Regions from separate parts of the Homo sapiens genome. Here regions 1, 2 and 4 are each linked to region 3. The links are contacts of gene promoters, found by promoter capture Hi-C in blood cells and fetal thymus (Javierre and others, 2016). All regions are on one chromosome and are shown on one strand. The core of a region is centred on a gene start or on the middle of the fragment in contact, and the rest is flanking DNA. Distances in the headings are between cores, read along the strand shown.

Region 1 (4,605 bases), core at 1,122-3,621, 520 kb before region 3:
CAGTCCAAGCATCACTACCTGTAAGCAGCTTTCTCTGATCCAGACAGGGTTAGGTGCCTACCCTGCTCCCACAGCTTCCTGGAATAGGCCTGTCCTCAAATGCATCACTGTATATATTTACTCTCCTATCTGCCTAGGCAGACTGAGCTCCCAGCATGGGATCCCAGCATGGGGTGAGCATGAAAGAGTGGCAAACAGAGTGGCATAAGACAGATAAAATACAAAAGGCAATTTACAAAGGACCAGGACCGCAGAGGCAGAGATAAACCAGTGGGCTCAGACTTCTGAGCGTCTCAGATCTGGCGTCCTCGACTCCCTGAACCTGCATCAGGGTCATGGGTCACAGGGGTGGGGGTGGGGTGGAGCGGGGTACCTGGGACAGCCCAGGGCTTTGGCATACCGCACGGCCTGCTCCAGTCCCTCTCGGAAGGCCGCCTGTCTCCCGGGGACGGCCCCCAGCCCCATTTCCCCCTTCTCTTGGTCTCCTGCAGAGAGAACGGGCCTCAGCCCCCGGCTCGGACACTCCCCTGCCCGCGCCCCGGCACCCCCCAGCCCTCCCAGCCCTCCCGGCCCGCGACGCACCCGGGGGCGTGTTGATCAGTACAAGCCGCAGCCCCGCTTCTCGCGCGGCGCGCGCCAGCGCCTCAGGCGTCTCCGCGTACGGCCAGGCCACCTCGACGGCCTCGAAGCCCGAGCTGCCCGCGGCCCGCACCCGCGCGGGGAGGCCGGAGAGCTCGGGGAATAGCCAGGACAGATTGGCGGAGAAGCGCAGCGGCGCCATGCCTGGGGAGGCCGGGCCGGGCGGAGTCCGCGGGATCCAAAGGCGGCGGGCGGCGGGCGGCGGGCGGCGGGCGGGGGCGGGGCTCTCCTTGCTGGCCCTGCGAACGAACGAGCACTGTTCGTGGTTAGAAAAGCGAAGTGCTGTAAAAACCCGGGCCTTCACGAAAAGCGCCTACGGTTAGCGAGAGAGGGATCACGGGGAGAGGCGAAGGGGCGGAGCGAGGGCGGCCGGAAAAGGAGCAGGACCCGCGCCTGGAGAAGGTAGGGAGGCCGAGCTCCAGGGCCTGAGAGCCGGACGCGAAGCAAGAGAGAGCTGGCTGCCCGAGGGCCCGGTTGCAATGATGGGACGCGCACTTTAATACTGAGTCTTTCCTCTGATTATAAAAATGCTATCTGTTCGTTAAGCAACATTTGAAAGCTGTATGACCAAATAAAGAAGCACTTTTATACCGCCAGTTATCACACCACTAGCCTGTTGGCTTTCCCGTCCAAATTTTAAAATATGCAATTTTTTTCTTTGGAAATTCTGATCATTCGGTATATGCTGTTTTATAGCTCTTTTTCATGGAATATTATTTTGTGAGCATTTCCTCGTGTTTTCCAATAGCCTTCAAAGTCAGTGCCTTCGCTGCTCATTGTCGCACACCTAAGCAGCAAGTCATTATTGTACTTTGTGGTTGGATATCGTGTGTGTGCACGCGCGCTGCAAGCGCACTTTCAGGCACTTCTTAGTCCCTATCTCTGACTCTTTTCCGAGTCTTTTTCTAGAGATGTCCATCACAGTGTTTGCCCGTTCACGCCGCTAGTCTTTTGCAAGGGAAACCGCCCCATTGGAGCAGCTATGGGTGAGCTGTCCCTTTTTAGCCTTAGCCTCAGCTGATTGGACCAGGGAGGTCATCTGATCCCAGGGCAGCCAATCCATAGACTGGCCAAAAACCTCTTACTTGCGTCGTTTGGAAAGGTAATTTAACCAATCAAGAGTTCAAACAAGGAAATGCTGAGAGTCAACAGGTGGTGTTGCCAGAAGGTGACTGGGCTGTAGAAACGAAATAAGACAGTCCTATGGTAAAGAAAAGCTAGAGCGGAAAGGAGGGGAACCAAGTCCTGTGAATAGAGGTAGCACCCTGAGAAACCCATGTCATCCCAAGGGTGCCCAAACCCATAGCTGCCCCCAGGTCTGTGCACTTAAGGCTGGGATGCTTAGACTTTCCTGGGTTTCTGTCTCTGTATAGCCTCTTAATGTTTCTTGAGATAATTTGAATGATTTTACTTTCATCTACAATAACCCAACTGATTGGGCAGGTTCTTATGGGTAGAATTACATGGTCAAAAATAGGAACATATTTAAGTTGTTGATATCTTAAATTTCCTTTGAAAAATATAAATTTATATCCCAACAATTCATGAGTAAACGTCATCTTGATCTATCGTCTGTGCTAACTTTGACAGAGAAGCTTAAAGTGCAACATTAGGAACACCCAGCTCCCACTGATTGTTCTGTCAACACTCAACTCCATCTCAAATGAGGCCAGCTCAGACACCAGGGATCCAGCCTGATCCCGTGGTGAACCCAAATTCTTGGCAGGTTCTGTTTCTTCAGCTCTGCCTCCAAGAACAGACTGCTGCCAGCTGACACTGATCACCTGATTTCATGCTCTTTTGCAGCTGGTTTTACACTAGGACCTTTGCCTTGTCTTGGAACGTGTTTCTCGTCCAATCAAGACCTCACTAAGCTTAACATTGTAATCAGTCCCAACTTTAGTGTGTTTGCAATCCAAAATTGACAACAAAGAGTAACATCTAGAGGAAGTAATTCCTTTATTACCACCTCACTGTTGATCTCCGAGTATGCAAATTCTATTTATGATGTTGACAGCTGCTGAGCTCTGCGTCAGAAACAAAATGTGTCCAACTCCCGATTGTCCACCCCTTTTTTCCTTGGACATGCCTTAGGGCAGTAAAGATTATACATAAACTAGACATAGGTGACTCACTTTCCCCTTAATTCCCTTACAACACCTTCCACCTTCACATAATATGCTCAAATAAATATATAAGGAGTGCAATGTCCATGAAAATTATTTGCTTTATTCACCTTTGACTATGTCTTATCCCACCTTGCAACACAGGCATGACACTAAGTTATCACAAGTTTTGATTCTTTGCATTTGCCTTTTTTTTTTGCTTTATTGTGCACACTTCACAGGTACGTATTTGACTTTTAACCAAATAATTTGCACAGGTGTGATTTTAAAGTAACAACAACTTGTAAATAGTTGCATGGATAATGGCAAAAACTTTAGTACAGAGTTCAGAGTCTCATTTGATCATTGGATAACATTTGGCAATGCAGTAAAACATATTACAACTCATGTGAAATGCAAATCAAAACCTCAATGAAATTCTATTTTATGCCTTCCACATTGGCAAAAATAAAAAACACATTATCAAATATTGGATAGGATTTGGAACAACTGCCAACAGGAGTGTAAATCACTATAACCTCCTTGGAAAACAATTTGGCATTGTCTCTTAAAGCTAATATGCCTATGATCTGACAGTTCCTTTCCCAGGTGTATCCCCTGAAGAAAGTTTTGCACAAGTGTACCAGGAAAGAAGTAAAGTGATGTTCACAGCAGAACTATTTATGTAGCAAAAAGATGGGACTAACCCAAATGTCCATCCATCCATACATAGATGAGTTGTGTAATAGTATAGTCATACCATGTTGTACAAGAGAAAGCTGGTGGCTCAAATGATAACACTGAGTTTGTTCCTGTGTTAGGACAATATATGAAGAGCTTAGTGAAGTTTGATTGGAACTGAAAAACATCAGTATGAAAGCATCAAGTGGATAAATCTCAGAAACATAATCTCTAGAGGAACAAGCAAATCACAGAGAAATACCTACAGTGTGATTCCATTGATATAAAGTCAAAGGCAGGGAAAACCAACAGTATCTTGTGTAGGAATATGGACATCTCTGATAAAACAATGAAGAACAAGTGAATAATTATCACAAAATTCAGCATAATGGTGACCACCTCTAGAGGAGGACAGAAGAGGGTAGCATTGGAGCCTTCTCTTACGTTGGATAGCACATTCATGTATGTTAATTTTACTACTCTTCTTTAGAGCTAACATATATTTTATAAATATCATTTTTTATCTGTCTTATATTTAATAAAAACACATTTTTAAAACCTGTATGCATTACTGCCATCTGTTAGCACATTTGATATTAACATCCTCATTGTGGTATCACTATAATCTCAAGATTTTTCTACAGGTTCAGCTTGTTTGTGTTGTTTGTCTGGTTTGAATTCTAATGATCACTTTTTAGACTCAACTTGTCACTGCTCAGCACAGTGGTCTTTTATTGTATTATCTGTCCAGAACCTGTGGCAGGTAGCGTGTAAAATGGTCCCCAATGGGTCAGAGGGGGTGGCTCACACCTGTAATCCCAGCACTTTGGGAGGCTGAGGCAGGAGGATAACTTGAGCCCAGGAGTTTCAGACCAGCCTTAGCAACCTGGTGAAACCCCATCTCGACAAAAATATAAAAATTGGCCAGGCGTTGTGGCATGTGCGTAGCCCCAGCTACTCCAGAGGCTGAGGTGGGAAGATCACTTGAGTCTGGGGGAGGTCAAGGCTGCAGTGAGCTGTGATTGCACCACTGCACTCCAGCCTGGGTGACAGAGCAAAACCCTGTCACAAGAAACAATAAATAAAATAAAATAAAATAAAATAATAAAATAACCGTTAGCAAGATTAACCAAGAAGAGCGAAAATCCAAATAACCTCACTAAGAAACGAAACAGGAAAT
Region 2 (4,047 bases), core at 910-3,409, 660 kb after region 3:
TGGGATAATGCAATCTAGCTTCAGCAAGTGGTAGTAAATGAGCTACCTTGGGTAAGGTACTTGGCTGTGAGCCTGACACACGGTAGAAGCTTAAATTGTAACATAGCAGCTCTCACCTGTGTTCCCCTCCTAGATTGCATTCATGAGCTTCCCGTTAGGGTCACTGTCCATGAGAAAGTTCTTCCTGGCCCTGCTTTGGGGAACCTTTCCCTCCTTTGCTGGCTCTCCCCACTCCCCATCAGTCTGGTCCCAGAGTAGCCATCTCTGATCCTGCTGTGGCATTCTGGAAGGGACTAGAGGGAAGAGAGTTTCTTGTTTTGACCCCTTCCTGCTTCAGTGACAGGAGGGCTACAGAGAGGGATTAGTGAGCTAATTAGAAATGATTGCATTGCTCAGCATTAATTAGCAGTGTTGTGGGCTTGCAGTGTGCACTTTGGAACTGAGCCCCCTGTGGGACAACATGGCAGGCAGCCCTCTGCCTCCAGGGCCTGCCAGCCCCTCTGTACTGATTAGAAATGATGGAACAGGTTCGGGTGGGCACAATAAGGGCTGCCTTCTCAGGGTTCCCTGAGCCTTCTGACCTGGCTGCCAAAGGTCTGACCCAGACCGTCTTACCTTTATGACTGGGCCTCAGTCTCCTCTTCTGTGAAATGGGATTAGTGGACCTCAGAGAAATTCTTCCTGATAAGATTCTAGGTGGGATGCTAGGAGCTGTACCTCAGGGCTCTTGGCCCAGGAACCAAAGAGGATTTAGCTGATGAGTGAACAGCAGGCCAAGTCAGGCCATCGGAGGGGTTAGGTTCTAGTCAAGAGATGCTCTTTAGAGTTGTATTTCCTGACACCAAAAGAGTTCATGGTCTTGGCCTTCTGGAGAGATACCTAGCAACATGGAGTGTCTTTGCTCACTGGATTTTTATTAAACACTGCAAATAGAAAGGTATGGGTAGACCTTGCACCAGCTGCAGCCAAAGAGTGGACTTACTCACTGGCTTAGTTAGCACCAGTCTCCTCCCCAGGTGCTCTTGGCAAAGCCCAGTCCCCAAAGGAGCAGGAGGTATTTCAAGATGAGGGCCAGATCAGGCACTGAATAAAAAGGCCAATGGCTGGCAAGAGGTCAGGATGTGTCAGCTCCACTGGGACCCTGGGGGCTGCAGTGACCGTCTGCTTGTTCTGTGCTTTGTTTTCGGTTTCCCCGTGCAGCTCGGATTGGGAAAATGAAACGGAGGAAGCAAGATGAAGGGCAGGTATGTCCCCTGTGCAACCGCCCCCTGGCAGGATCGGAGCAGGAGATGAGTAGGCATGTGGAGCATTGCCTTTCTAAGGTAGAGGGGCCATCACCACCCACCTTCCTTCCCCGCTCCCTTCCCCCGACACTAGCTGCTGACTGCCCCTGAATCTGTGGGCTCTTGGGGTCTCCATGTGGTCTCAGCAGCTTCTTCCCTTCTGACCACTGCTCTCTCCTTTTGCTTTCACTCTCACTCATTCCCTCCTTGGGCTCCAGCGGAAAACTATTGGGAAGAGGCCCAGGTCTTTGACCTCTAAATTGGTTTGCTTCAAAGGAGCCCTAGAGCTGAGGGCCCACTTGGCACACCACAGCTGGGGCTAGAGCTGTGCCTTCGTTGCAGACTGTGGGGAGCAGGTGGGGATGGCCTGGGCCCAGCATGATCCTGCTCTGCTCTTCACAGAGGGAAGGCTCCTGCATGGCTGAGGATGATGCTGTGGACATCGAGCATGAGAACAACAACCGCTTTGAGGAGTATGAGTGGTGTGGACAGAAGCGGATACGGGCCACCACTCTCCTGGAAGGTGGCTTCCGAGGTACAAGCAGCTGACACGTAGACATTGGCACTCTGGTGCCAGGCCTCTGCTGGGTATCCATCTGCTGGAAGCCAAGAGGCCGAGGCTGGTGGCTGGTCATCCATCCGTTCCACCACGTGGGGACTGCTGCTGGTGGGGCTCCTTTGTGACCGTGCTGCCTGCCTGTGATGTGCATATTAAAATGGATGTATTTGGGTGGGGAAATGGAATTGTGAGGCTGCAAGCTAGGAGTGACGAAGGGGGGCTCTCAGCTTCGGGTGATGCATTGAAGGTGACAGCCAAGCCGCGTTAGCACCTGCATAAAATATTAAAGGGACGGTTATGCATTTATCACTCCATCCCTCTTAAGGCTGATAAATGAGAATCCAGCAACCTGCTGTACACCTCCAGCACTGGGGGCCCTGAGGGCTTCCAGGCAAACACATTGGATTTTCCTCCTCCTCCTCTTCAGCCCTATGTCAGGGAAATCAGTTACAGAGGAGAGTGAGTTATGGCAAAATTTGACCTCCCATGAGCTTCATTGGTGAATCTAATTTTAGCTCTGATCCCATCCCTTCTCCCTGGGCGCCCTCTGCCCTGAAGCAAGAGGGGCCTGGGCCCAGCTGCTCCCTCCTTCCCTTGGGCTCTCCCCAGTTGCTACAAAGGAGTGTGCAGGGCCCTGCCCATCTCCAGTGCCCTCCCAGCTCCTTGGAAGAGCAAGGCTTGACACCCCCCACCAGGTCAGACAGCAGAATTGGTTGGGTGCCCAGGGTTAGTGACTTGTTAAACTCCCCAGCCTTGGGCAGGGGAAAAGGGGAGCTGTCTGCCTCTTGGCCTCCAGCTCTTCTCTCTTTCTGTGCACAAGCACAGCTGGTACTGCAGCTTGTGGTCATTAAGTGAGCCAATCTGCTTCCCGTCTGCCTCTCTCTCTGGGCAACACCTTTGGGAATACTGCTGTGTATGGTCCCTGGGGAATCTCACAGCAGCTGGGAAGAAGTTCTCTGCCTTCGTGGGGCCGTGCTACCTGGGCAGATGCTGAGGAGTGGTCTCTGCAGGGCCGTCCAGTGCAGACTGGTTCCACGAAGGGGCTAAGAGCCCAGATGAGACATTATGCCTCTGGGCGTCTCTCACATTACCCAGGTGTTTGGGGGCAAGCCAAAACATAAATCAGGAAGGTTAGTCAGACCAAACAGTCTCCCTGAGCCGGAGCTGGAGAGTGTTAGTTTGCCATTTCACTCATCCCGTACTGGAGCCTTCGAGTATCTGAGGCCCTAGAAGAGTGAGCAGCAGGGCTGACGACTGTCCCATGAGTTGGACACATGGGTGTCCGATGGCAGCCACACAGGGTCAGTTTCAACGTGCTGCTCTGGTTAGCTCTGTTGGCAGCTGCAACTGCTCACATCCTCCATTGCTGTGGCACCTTCTTAGGTTCCTTGGCACAGACCTGGACCTGATGGCTTCTGGGCACCAGACAGGGCTTATGGAGGATAAAGCTGCAAAGGGCCTGCTGATTTGACAAGAGTATTTCCCCTGTGCCGGGATGCACTTGCACAGCAGTGTGAGGGGCTCTTAGGCCCCGGGCGGGTATCCGTTTTCCCTGAGTGTTTACACTGTGAGGTTGTTCCTTTCAAGAATTCCTGAGGGGAGTTCAAAGGGGGCTTTTCTTTGAGCGATTTGGAGAGCGAGAATGAGAGTGAGACTTGAAGAGGGAACAGGGGCCGGAGGTGCCTTTATCTGCAGAGAATTGCTCCAGCTTTCCTGATAGAAGCTGCTGCCGCCTCTTAAACAGCTTAGTGCAGTCAAAAGACAGGCAGACTTGAAAGGCTGTTTTACAGCGAGATCAGCGGGGGCCACGAGGCAGAGAGCGGGGCGCAGTGGAGCGGAGGAGGCTGAGGCTCCTCAGTGGGGGGGCTATCAAAGGGAGGCCCTGGCTGATCCCTACTGCCTCTGCCCCCAAAACCCTGTCTGCAAAAGCTGGCCATCTGTCAGCCTACCCTCCCTGGCCAGGACTGATAGGCCCTAACTCTTGGGGGGTTGGGTGTGGCCTCGCCAGGCGGGCTGGTGTCAGTGCAGCGCATTGATCGCCCGCCGGGCGGGCCGGGCTGCAAGCCGGGCAGCGCGTGCTTAATGTGATTGAAAGGCAGTTAAAATGGCGGTGACCTTTTCAGGAGGAATTAGATTGCCTGCCAAGACCGGTTAGAGGGAGTGATAACGCCAGCTGAAGAAGCTGCCCAGCAGACTTCAGAGAGA
Region 3 (4,269 bases), core at 822-3,321:
GACAGTCTAGACCAGGGTTTCTCAAACTCGTACTTGACATTTGGGGCCAGATAATTCTTTGTTGTGGGGCTGTCTGGTGTATGGTAGGGTGCTCAGCAGCATCCCTGGCCTCTGCCCACTAGACATCAGAAGCACTCCCCCAGTTGTGACAACCAAAAATATCTCCAGACCTTGGCAAATGTTATCTGTGGGGGAAAATTGCCCTCAATTGAGAACCACTGGTCTAGCTAGACCTGCACTGTCCAGTACAGTAGCCACTAAATACATGTGGCTAAACTTAAATTTAAGTTAATTAAGATTAAAAGCTCAGTTTCTCAGTCACATTAGTCATTCAAGTGTTCAGACAGCCACATGAGGGGACAGTGCAGCTACAGGATATGCCATCATGGCAGAAAGTTCTATTGGTTGGACAGCGTTGGTCTATACTGACTCTTATTTCTCAGGGAGATCACAGCAACCTAAATAAACCAGATACCTTTTCTCTTTGTGTTTCTTTTTAATTCATGAAATACTGCAGGTCCTGCACTGGTCCTGGGATGTAGATGTTAACTGTATTTAACCAGATTCCTTTCCAGTGTACCTGGAAAGAGAGTTAAATACGCAGTCAGTACACAGTGAAACAGCTCTATCTGGGAGGAGGGAAGCCCCAGGGACAGCTGGATCCCACAGGAGATACCTGACAAGGACTAAGAGGAGGCTTCCCAGAGGGCATAACACCTATGCTGGATCTTTTGGAGGAAAAAATAATTGTCAGGAGAAAAGGAGTGAAAAAGACCTTTGGGCTTAAACATGAACCAACATGGCGGATGCTTCAAGCAAGTGGGGTTGCTGGGCCCTAAAGGTGGAGAGGGGTGAAATGAAAAGACTCGCCTCTTCTTCCCCACATTTGTTGAGAATCTGGTCACAGTGGCATTGTCGAGGGTATTGAAGGTGAACAAAGGAGATGTGGTCCCTGCCCTCAGGGAATGCCTAGTCTAATGGTGGAGGCAGAGCTGTAAGCTAACAAGGTAACCCAGACAAAGTGGGCATCAGTCATGTGTTCTACAAATATGTACTGAGGACACACTCTGTGCCAGGTACTGGAAATACAGCAGTGAGCGACACAAAAGCCATGGTGCTTCCACTCTTCCAGGGGAGTTGGACAAATAAAATACTTAGTATGCCAAATGGTGATCAGTAAGTACCGTGAGAAATGTAAAGCTGGGAAGCAGAGGAGCGTTTAAGTGGGGTGGAATATTAAACAGAATGGTCAGAGAAGGCCTTTTCAAGAAGGTGAGCAAAAACTGAAAGGAAGTTACAGGATGAGCCGCATGTATAGTTAGGAGAAGCAGAGAGAGCAAGTGCAAGGGCAGTGAGGTCGCGGTATGGTTGGCACGTTCAAAGAAATAGCAAGGAGGGCAGTGCAGCCAGAGGAGGGAGTTAGTGGGGGAATATTAGAAGGTGAAGTCAGCTGAGGGGCGTGGGGAGCCTAGCAGGCTATTGTGAGAACTTTGGCTTTTCTCCTGAATGAAATGGGAGCCATCAGGGCATTTCGACAGGGTAGTGACATCTTACTGAAGCTTAATAAGCATCACCAGGACATCGCGGGAGCCCAGCAAACGCGCTTCCCTGCCACTGGGTTAGGGAAGGCTTGCCGGAAGGACGATTTCGGAGGACAGCAGGTGTTAGCCAGGCAGCGGAGCGAGCGCCAACAGGCGCACTGGGGCGGAGAGACGCCGTGAGCAAGGTGAGGCAGAGGGCACGCGCGGCGCCACCCGCCACAGGCTAGGACGCACGGCTGCCAGAGAGGACGCCTTAGGGGCCCGCGAGCAGGCTCGGGAATAAAACAGGGCTGGCAGGGCGAGGTGGAGAGACTCGAGAAGGACCGGCCAGATGTCGAAGTTCCTAGAGAGGAGGGCGCCCAAGCCTCCGCCGAGACGCGTGACTACAACTACCACAATCCCCAGCGCCTGCGGTTCCAGCGTCGCCTTGCTCTAGACGGGCGGCGGCGCTGCGCGGGGAACCGGCGTGGGGTCACGTGGTACCGGCGCATCACGTGGGCGAGTTAGGTGACGCTGCGGGGCGGGCGGACAGACTGCGGGACGGACGGTGGACGCTGGGACGCGTTTGTAGCTCCGGCCCCGCCGTTCCGACCCCCGCCGCCGTCGCCGCCATGACGGGGCTAGCACTGCTCTACTCCGGGGTCTTCGTGGCCTTCTGGGCCTGCGCGCTGGCCGTGGGTGAGGCCGGGTCCTGGCGGGCGGGAGCAGCATCGCGGCCGAGCTGGCCGGGTCGGAACTCGGCGGGGAAGTGGCCTGCGGGGAATACTGGCCCCCCGCGCGCTCTGCACCCGAGGCTCTGGGGACTTGCGCCTGCGAGGGCCTCTGACTCCGACAAAGGAGACCCGGATTTCCAGCTGCTTGAGGAGGGGTGCGGGCGGGTAGGGGCCGCGAGGGCAGCACTCCCCCGTCCTGCCACTATCGCTGTCTCCCCTCGCTCCCACGTCTCACTGCTGTCCCCCCTTTCTTGCTCCTGACCGGCCCGCTCGGTCACAAGCCGGCTGCTCCGGTTCCTCTTTTCCCAGTCGCTTTGCCCTCCCCCACCCACAGCTTGTTGGGTAAACAGCGGAACGGACTGGGCCGGCGGGATCTGGCTGGAGCGCTTGCTCCCTCGGTCCCGCCTCGGATTCGGGCTTGCGGGTGGCGACCCTGCCTGCGCAGGTGCTTGGTCTGGGAGGTGGTTTTAGCGAGGGAATGGCAGAAAATGGAGGCCTAAGCAGAGGAATCTGTCTACACAGCTGTACTGTCACCTGGGGGCAGCCTGAGGACGCCCCTTCAGGGAGGTGGCCCTTCAGCTCGGCAGCTACTTTAGGTTGAAGAACTTCTCTCTACCGAGCAGCCCGTAACCCCCTTTTTCTCCCTCACTGCTGCAGGAGTCTGCTACACCATTTTTGATTTGGGCTTCCGCTTTGATGTGGCATGGTAAGGGAGGGCAGGGGGAGGATTCCCCTTGAAGCTTCTTCCCTGCAGCCTCTCTTCTTTTCTCTGGTCTGAGTCCCTCCCCCACACCACTGCCTGCCTGGGACATGGACCTTTGGGAAATACGCGGTCAGTTGTTGCCTGTAGAACTGGTGGTGGGGTTGAAGGGGGTTTGAGGGGTTAAGATTTTGTGCTCCGCTTCCCTGCTAGAGCTGAACTGCTTTCTTCTCTGCTTCCACAACAGGTTCCTGACGGAGACTTCGCCCTTCATGTGGTCCAACCTGGGCATTGGCCTAGCTATCTCCCTGTCTGTGGTTGGGGCAGCCTGGTGAGTATTGGGGTGGTGGGACTGGGGGCAGGGGCTGAGTCATGGCAGGTGGTGTCACTGGGGTCTTAGGCATGCTGAGGGCAGTGACAGCTTGGGCTCTGCTCATCAGTTTTTTATCCTTCCACCAGGGGCATCTATATTACCGGCTCCTCCATCATTGGTGGAGGAGTGAAGGCCCCCAGGATCAAGACCAAGAACCTGGTCAGGTAAGTGTCAGGGTCCTTGGACTTTTGTCAGAACCAGCTGTGTTGGCGCTGCCTGTGTGTTTGATCTGACATACTGTTTCTGACAAGCCACCTTGTGGGATGGGATGTTATAGGGGAAAGATTGCTGGGGACTTACTGGGCAGGAAGGACGGTTTCTTTCTCATTTCTTTCTCCTTTCCACTCCTTACCCCTAATCTCTACCACTACCAGCATCATCTTCTGTGAGGCTGTGGCCATCTACGGCATCATCATGGCAATTGTCATTAGCAACATGGCTGAGGTATGGAAGGCCAGGGTGGTGGCGGGAATCCATTCCAGTGTGTTCTACACATTCCTTAGAGATTGGATGGGGTGCATCAGGATGGTTTCTGATTACTTTTCTTCTTCCCTCAGCCTTTCAGTGCCACAGACCCCAAGGCCATCGGCCATCGGAACTACCATGCAGGTGGGTGGATGGGCGTATGAATGCAAAATGCTGGGACTTCATGCCTGCTTCCACTCTCCCCCATCCCAGCTTGGGCCATCATTTTGATATTCTCTCACCTACTTTTTCTGCTTTGCAGAGTGGGGATGGTGATTGGCCCCATTAGCCCATATCTCCCCCATTCCTGGCTTAGCCTCACTGCACCCCTCTCTATCCTCCCAGGCTACTCCATGTTTGGGGCTGGCCTCACCGTAGGCCTGTCTAACCTCTTCTGTGGAGTCTGCGTGGGCATCGTGGGCAGTGGGGCTGCCCTGGCCGATGCTCAGAACCCCAGCCTCTTTGTAAAGATTCTCA
Region 4 (4,245 bases), core at 1,746-4,245, 620 kb before region 3:
ACCGGGAGGCAGAGGTTGCAGTGAGCCAAGACCACACCACAAAAAAAGATAAAAGTTTTTTTGTTTTTTTTTTTTTTTTTGAGACAGGGTCTTCACTCTGTCGCCCAGGCTGGAATGCAGTGGTGTGGTCACGGCTCACTGCAGCCTCAAACTCCTGGTCTCAAGCGATCCTCCCACCTCAGCCTCCCAAGTAGCTGGGACTACTGGAATTACAGGTGTGCACCACTAGCTTGGCTAATGTTTTCTGTATTATTATTATTTTTTTTTGAGATGGAATCTTGCTCTGTCGCCCAGGCTGGAGTGCAGTGGCGCGATCTCGGCCTACTGCAAGCTCCACCTCCCGAGTTCACGCCATTCTCCTGCCTCAGCCTCCCGAGTAGCTGAGACTACAGGCGCCCGCCACCATGCCCGGCGAATTTTTTTTATATTTTTCGCAGGACAGGGTTTCACCGCGTTAGCCAGGATGGTCTCGATCTCCTGACCTAGTGATCCGCCCGCCTCAGCCTCCCAAAGTGCTGGGATTACAGGTGTGAGCCACCGCGCAGGCCTGTTTTCTGTATTTTTTTTAGAGACAAGGTGATACTATGTTGCCCAGACTGGTCCCAAACTCATGAGCTCAAGCAATCCTCTGGCCTTGGCCTTCCAAAGTGCTGGGATTACAAGTGTAAGCCACCACACCCAGCCAGATGTTGAAGTCTTAACTCCCAGTACTTCAAATACGACCTTATTAGGAAATAGGGTCATTGCAGATATAATTAGTTAAGATGAGGTCAGGGCCCTAGTTCAATATGATTGGTATTCTTATAAAAAGAGAAAATTGGACACACATACACACAGAAAGAAAGCCAAGTGAAGATGAAGGCAGAGAACAGGGCGATTCTTCTATAAGCCAAGGAATGACAAAGATTGCCGGCAAACCACCACCAGAAGCCAGGAGAGAGGCATGGAACAGATTCTTCCTCACGGTTCTCACACAACTCTCATGACACCTTGATCTGGAACTTCTAACCTCCAGAATTGTGAGACAACCAATTTCTGTCATTTAAGCCAGTTTGTGGTACTTTGTTACAGTAACTCTAGCAAACGAATATAGAGGATATCAGGGGATGGGCTACACAAGTCACCTATACTTGCCGGCTTCCCGTTCTCCCTATTTCATTCTTTCCGCAACTCCTCCAAAATGGATCTCAAGCACCCACTTTCCTGATCCTGCTCTCTCCAAAGTCATCGGTAATTTGATTTTCAATGGCCAAATCTGACCCTTTCTGTCATCATTCCACTTGACTACATATATTAGGGTATCTCCCACTTCAAGATCCATGTCTGGATAATTTCCATTGCCTTCCTTCATTCATTTATTATTATTATTATTTTGAGACAAAGTCTCCCTCTGTCACCCAGGCTAGAGTGCAGTGGCGCGACCTCGCTCACTACAACCTGCGCCTCCCAGGTTCAAGCGATTCCCCTGCCTCAGCCTCCCAGGTAGCTGGGATTACAGGTGTGCACCACCACACCTGGCTAATTTTGTACTTCTAGTAGAGACAGGGTTTCGCCACATTGGCCCGACTAGTCTTGAACTACTGACTTCAAGTGATCTGCCCGCCTTGGCCTCCCAAAGTGCTGGGATTACAGGAGTGAACCATGACAACCTGCCCAAATCCTTTATTTTTAAATGTACAAATTCCCTGAGGCTATACCCTTTATCCTTCTCTATAGCTACCACCAGAAGTTGCAAATTATTGCCATATCCCCCCCCTCAGATGTTTTATTTGGTCCTTCCCTACACAGAAACCCCACAGGTACCACAATGCCTAGCAGATGAAGTCCAAAGTCTTTAGCTTAACATTTAAGACCCTGACCAACTTGACATGAGACAACCTTTTCTATGTTTTCTGGGAATTCCCCACCTCTAACCTAAGCATATCCAATTCCTTATTTTCCAAGGTAATTGGAAATAGAGAATGCAAAGGCTTCAAGTCAAAGATAATAACATTATCTGTAAGCATCGGAGTGGACTTTAAGCTAATGACTGAAAATGATTTTTCCAGCCTCTTTCTGGGACAGTATAGCGTATTGTTTAGATTGCAGGGATTAGTCAGATAGTTTGAATCCTGGGCTCCCCTACTTATTATTGGCTGCATGCCTTTGGGCAAGTTTCTAATCTTTCTGACCCAGTTTCTTTTTTCTGTAAAGGGAAGATGGGGTATCTATCTGCCTTATGGGATTAAGGATTGAACTCGATAATGTATGTAAACTTTTTTTTTTTTTTTCAGACAGAGTATCGCTCTGTTGCCCAGGCTGGAGTGCAGTGGCTCGATCTCGGCTCACTGCAAGCTCCGCCTCCCGGGTTCACGCCATTCTCCTGCCTCAGCCTCTCGAGTAGCTGGAACTACAGGCGCCCGCCACCAAGCCCGGCTAATTTTTTGTATTTTTAGTAAAGACGGGGTTTCACCGTGTTAGCCAGGATGGTCTCGATCTTCTGACTTCGTGATCTGCCCGCCTCGGCCTCCCAAAGTGCTGGGATTACAAGCGTGAGCCACCGCGCATGGCCTGTAAATTGTTTTAACACAGTAGTTAGATGGTCCATAAATGGTACCATTATTACTTTTATGATTGCTGCTCCACCTCTGAGCACATTCATACAATTCACTCAAGTCATTATTAGAGCACTAGATTGAGTGCGAGTCAGACCTGGATTCCCACAAACTTCTTTGTATGACCTCGGGCACATCCCTTCCCTGGGCCTCCGTTTCTCCATCTGTAAAATATGGATTTGTTGTCGGGGTGGGGAGGCTGCACCACGCACAGGTTAGACTAATGGATCTCTAAGGTCCTCACATCTTTAAAGCCCCAAGGGGATAAGCCACAGTGCCTCCTGTAGGGCAGTCTAAGCTTATCTTCCAGATAGGCAGGTTTGAATACCGATCCTTTTTCTTGACCTTAAGGAATTCATTCACCCTTTTCAACCTCATTTTCCCTGTTTGTAAAACAACAGCAAACGAGACAAACACACGTTACTTCCTTTCTAGCAGGGTTCCTACCCGGCGCCAAGCAAAAGTGGAATGTACCCTAAGTAGCTCTGGCCTTCTTCCTGCTCCCAAGCTTCCCAATTCCGTCCCCTGCCCCGCTGCCGCCCGCGGCTCTCCTTCCCCTTCTAGGAACGGCTCAAGCGCCTTGGGCACTCCATCGGGTTCTGCACCGAGTTCTGCATCATAAATACGACTCTCGTGTAGGATTTAAGTGTGAACTTCTGCAGGTTCTCGGACCCTGAAGCACCCGGGGCCAGACATTCCGAGCTCGCGGCGGTGGAAGGCACGCAAAAGGGCGAACCGAGACGACTCCAGGACGCTGAGGCAGCGCAGGCCCCACCCGGCCCCGCCCTGCCCCGCCCTGTCCCGGCCGGCTTTCCAGTACTAGTCCTCTGGCGCCGGCTCCCAGCCCCTCTCGTACCCTTCAAATCGCGCTCCGCCGCTAGACTCTCGTGATAGCTGAGACTTTCCCCGGAAGGCCCGCCCCCTTCGCCGGAGAGGCCAATGGGCTAGGGCAACGGTTGCGACGGTTGGATTTTGAAGGAGCCAATAGGCGCTCGGAGCGGAGAGTTTAAGAGGCGTAAGCCAGGCGTGTTAAAGCCGGTCGGAACTGCTCCGGAGGGCACGGTGAGAGGTGGTGGGGCTGAGCCGAGGTGGGGCCGTGGCCAGGGGGAGGGGGTGCTAGGCCGGAAGGGGCTGCAGCCGAGGGTGGCCCTGATTTTGTGGCCGGCCAGGAGCGAAGGGGTCCCTTTCTGTCCCCTGAGCACCGTCGCCTCCTTTCCTCCAGGGCTCCGTAGGCACCAACTGCAAGGACCCCTCCCCCTGCGGGCGCTCCCATGGCACAGTTCGCGTTCGAGAGTGACCTGCACTCGCTGCTTCAGCTGGATGCACCCATCCCCAATGCACCCCCTGCGCGCTGGCAGCGCAAAGCCAAGGAAGCCGCAGGCCCGGCCCCCTCACCCATGCGGGCCGCCAACCGATCCCACAGCGCCGGCAGGACTCCGGGCCGAACTCCTGGTCAGTGAGGTGCCAAAGGAACTGAGTGAGAGCAGCCTTCATACTTTCTCCCTGGGGAGCCTGGTCAGACTGTCTTCTCTTTCTCCGCCCCAGGCAAATCCAGTTCCAAGGTTCAGACCACTCCTAGCAAACCTGGCGGTGACCGCTATATCCCCCATCGCAGTGCTGCCCAGATGGAGGTGGCCAGCTTCCTCCTGAG

What was found. Contacts are between HindIII fragments. The CHiCAGO score rates a contact against its expected background, and 5 or more counts as called.
Region 1: a fragment that was not itself captured here is called in contact with the fragment with the promoter of ATP6V0B in region 3 in 1 of 17 cell types (fetal thymus); the score reaches 5.5 in fetal thymus.
Region 2: a contact is called between a fragment that was not itself captured here and the fragment with the promoter of ATP6V0B in region 3, in 1 of 17 cell types (fetal thymus). The highest score is 6.2, in fetal thymus.
Region 4: a contact is called between a fragment that was not itself captured here and the fragment with the promoter of ATP6V0B in region 3, in 8 of 17 cell types (fetal thymus, total CD8 T cells, total B cells and 5 more). The highest score is 16.0, in fetal thymus.

Annotation. Positions count from the first base shown.
Region 1 is chr1:43,453,013-43,457,617 of GRCh38, forward strand. SZT2 (SZT2 subunit of KICSTOR complex) reads left to right here. Exons shown (of 72, transcript NM_001365999.1): 72 at 1-1,235. HYI-AS1 (HYI antisense RNA 1) reads left to right here and starts at 915. Exons shown (of 2, transcript NR_174945.1): 1 at 915-1,041; 2 at 3,566-3,987. It overlaps HYI (hydroxypyruvate isomerase (putative)), which reads right to left and starts at 919. Exons shown (of 8, transcript NM_001190880.3): 1 at 583-919; 2 at 374-485. The coding sequence starts at 781. RefSeq lists silencers at 486-545, 656-955. The HindIII fragment of the contact is 279 bases long and covers 2,233-2,511 here.
Region 2 is chr1:44,634,345-44,638,391 of GRCh38, forward strand. RNF220 (ring finger protein 220) reads left to right here. Exons shown (of 15, transcript NM_018150.4): 7 at 1,201-1,244; 8 at 1,686-1,818. LOC107984950 (a long non-coding RNA gene) reads right to left here. Exons shown (of 2, transcript XR_001738031.2): 2 at 894-2,113. Among named protein-coding and RNA genes, the nearest start is that of SNORD145, 35 kb to the right of the region's middle. The HindIII fragment of the contact is 4,145 bases long and covers 88-4,047 here.
Region 3 is chr1:43,972,889-43,977,157 of GRCh38, forward strand. It overlaps ATP6V0B (ATPase H+ transporting V0 subunit b), which reads left to right and starts at 2,072. Exons shown (of 8, transcript NM_004047.5): 1 at 2,072-2,219; 2 at 2,912-2,960; 3 at 3,202-3,285; 4 at 3,414-3,491; 5 at 3,702-3,771; 6 at 3,885-3,936; 7 at 4,138-4,269. The coding sequence starts at 2,153. It overlaps LOC124904167 (a long non-coding RNA gene), which reads right to left and starts at 1,977. Exons shown (of 2, transcript XR_007066053.1): 1 at 1,555-1,977; 2 at 477-999. DPH2 (diphthamide biosynthesis 2) reads left to right here. Exons shown (of 6, transcript NM_001384.5): 6 at 1-481. RefSeq lists enhancers at 1,225-2,058, 1,641-1,760, 1,811-1,860, 2,059-2,891 and silencers at 2,111-2,160, 2,561-2,610. The HindIII fragment of the contact is 1,435 bases long and covers 1,558-2,992 here.
Region 4 is chr1:43,355,351-43,359,595 of GRCh38, forward strand. It overlaps CDC20 (cell division cycle 20), which reads left to right and starts at 3,631. Exons shown (of 11, transcript NM_001255.3): 1 at 3,631-3,656; 2 at 3,817-4,046; 3 at 4,140-4,245. The coding sequence starts at 3,866. It overlaps CDC20-DT (CDC20 divergent transcript), which reads right to left and starts at 3,323. Exons shown (of 4, transcript NR_183650.1): 1 at 3,200-3,323; 2 at 2,692-2,758; 3 at 2,453-2,550. RefSeq lists enhancers at 2,400-2,908, 3,020-3,079, 3,419-3,927 and silencers at 3,370-3,479, 3,670-3,819. The HindIII fragment of the contact is 210 bases long and covers 2,891-3,100 here.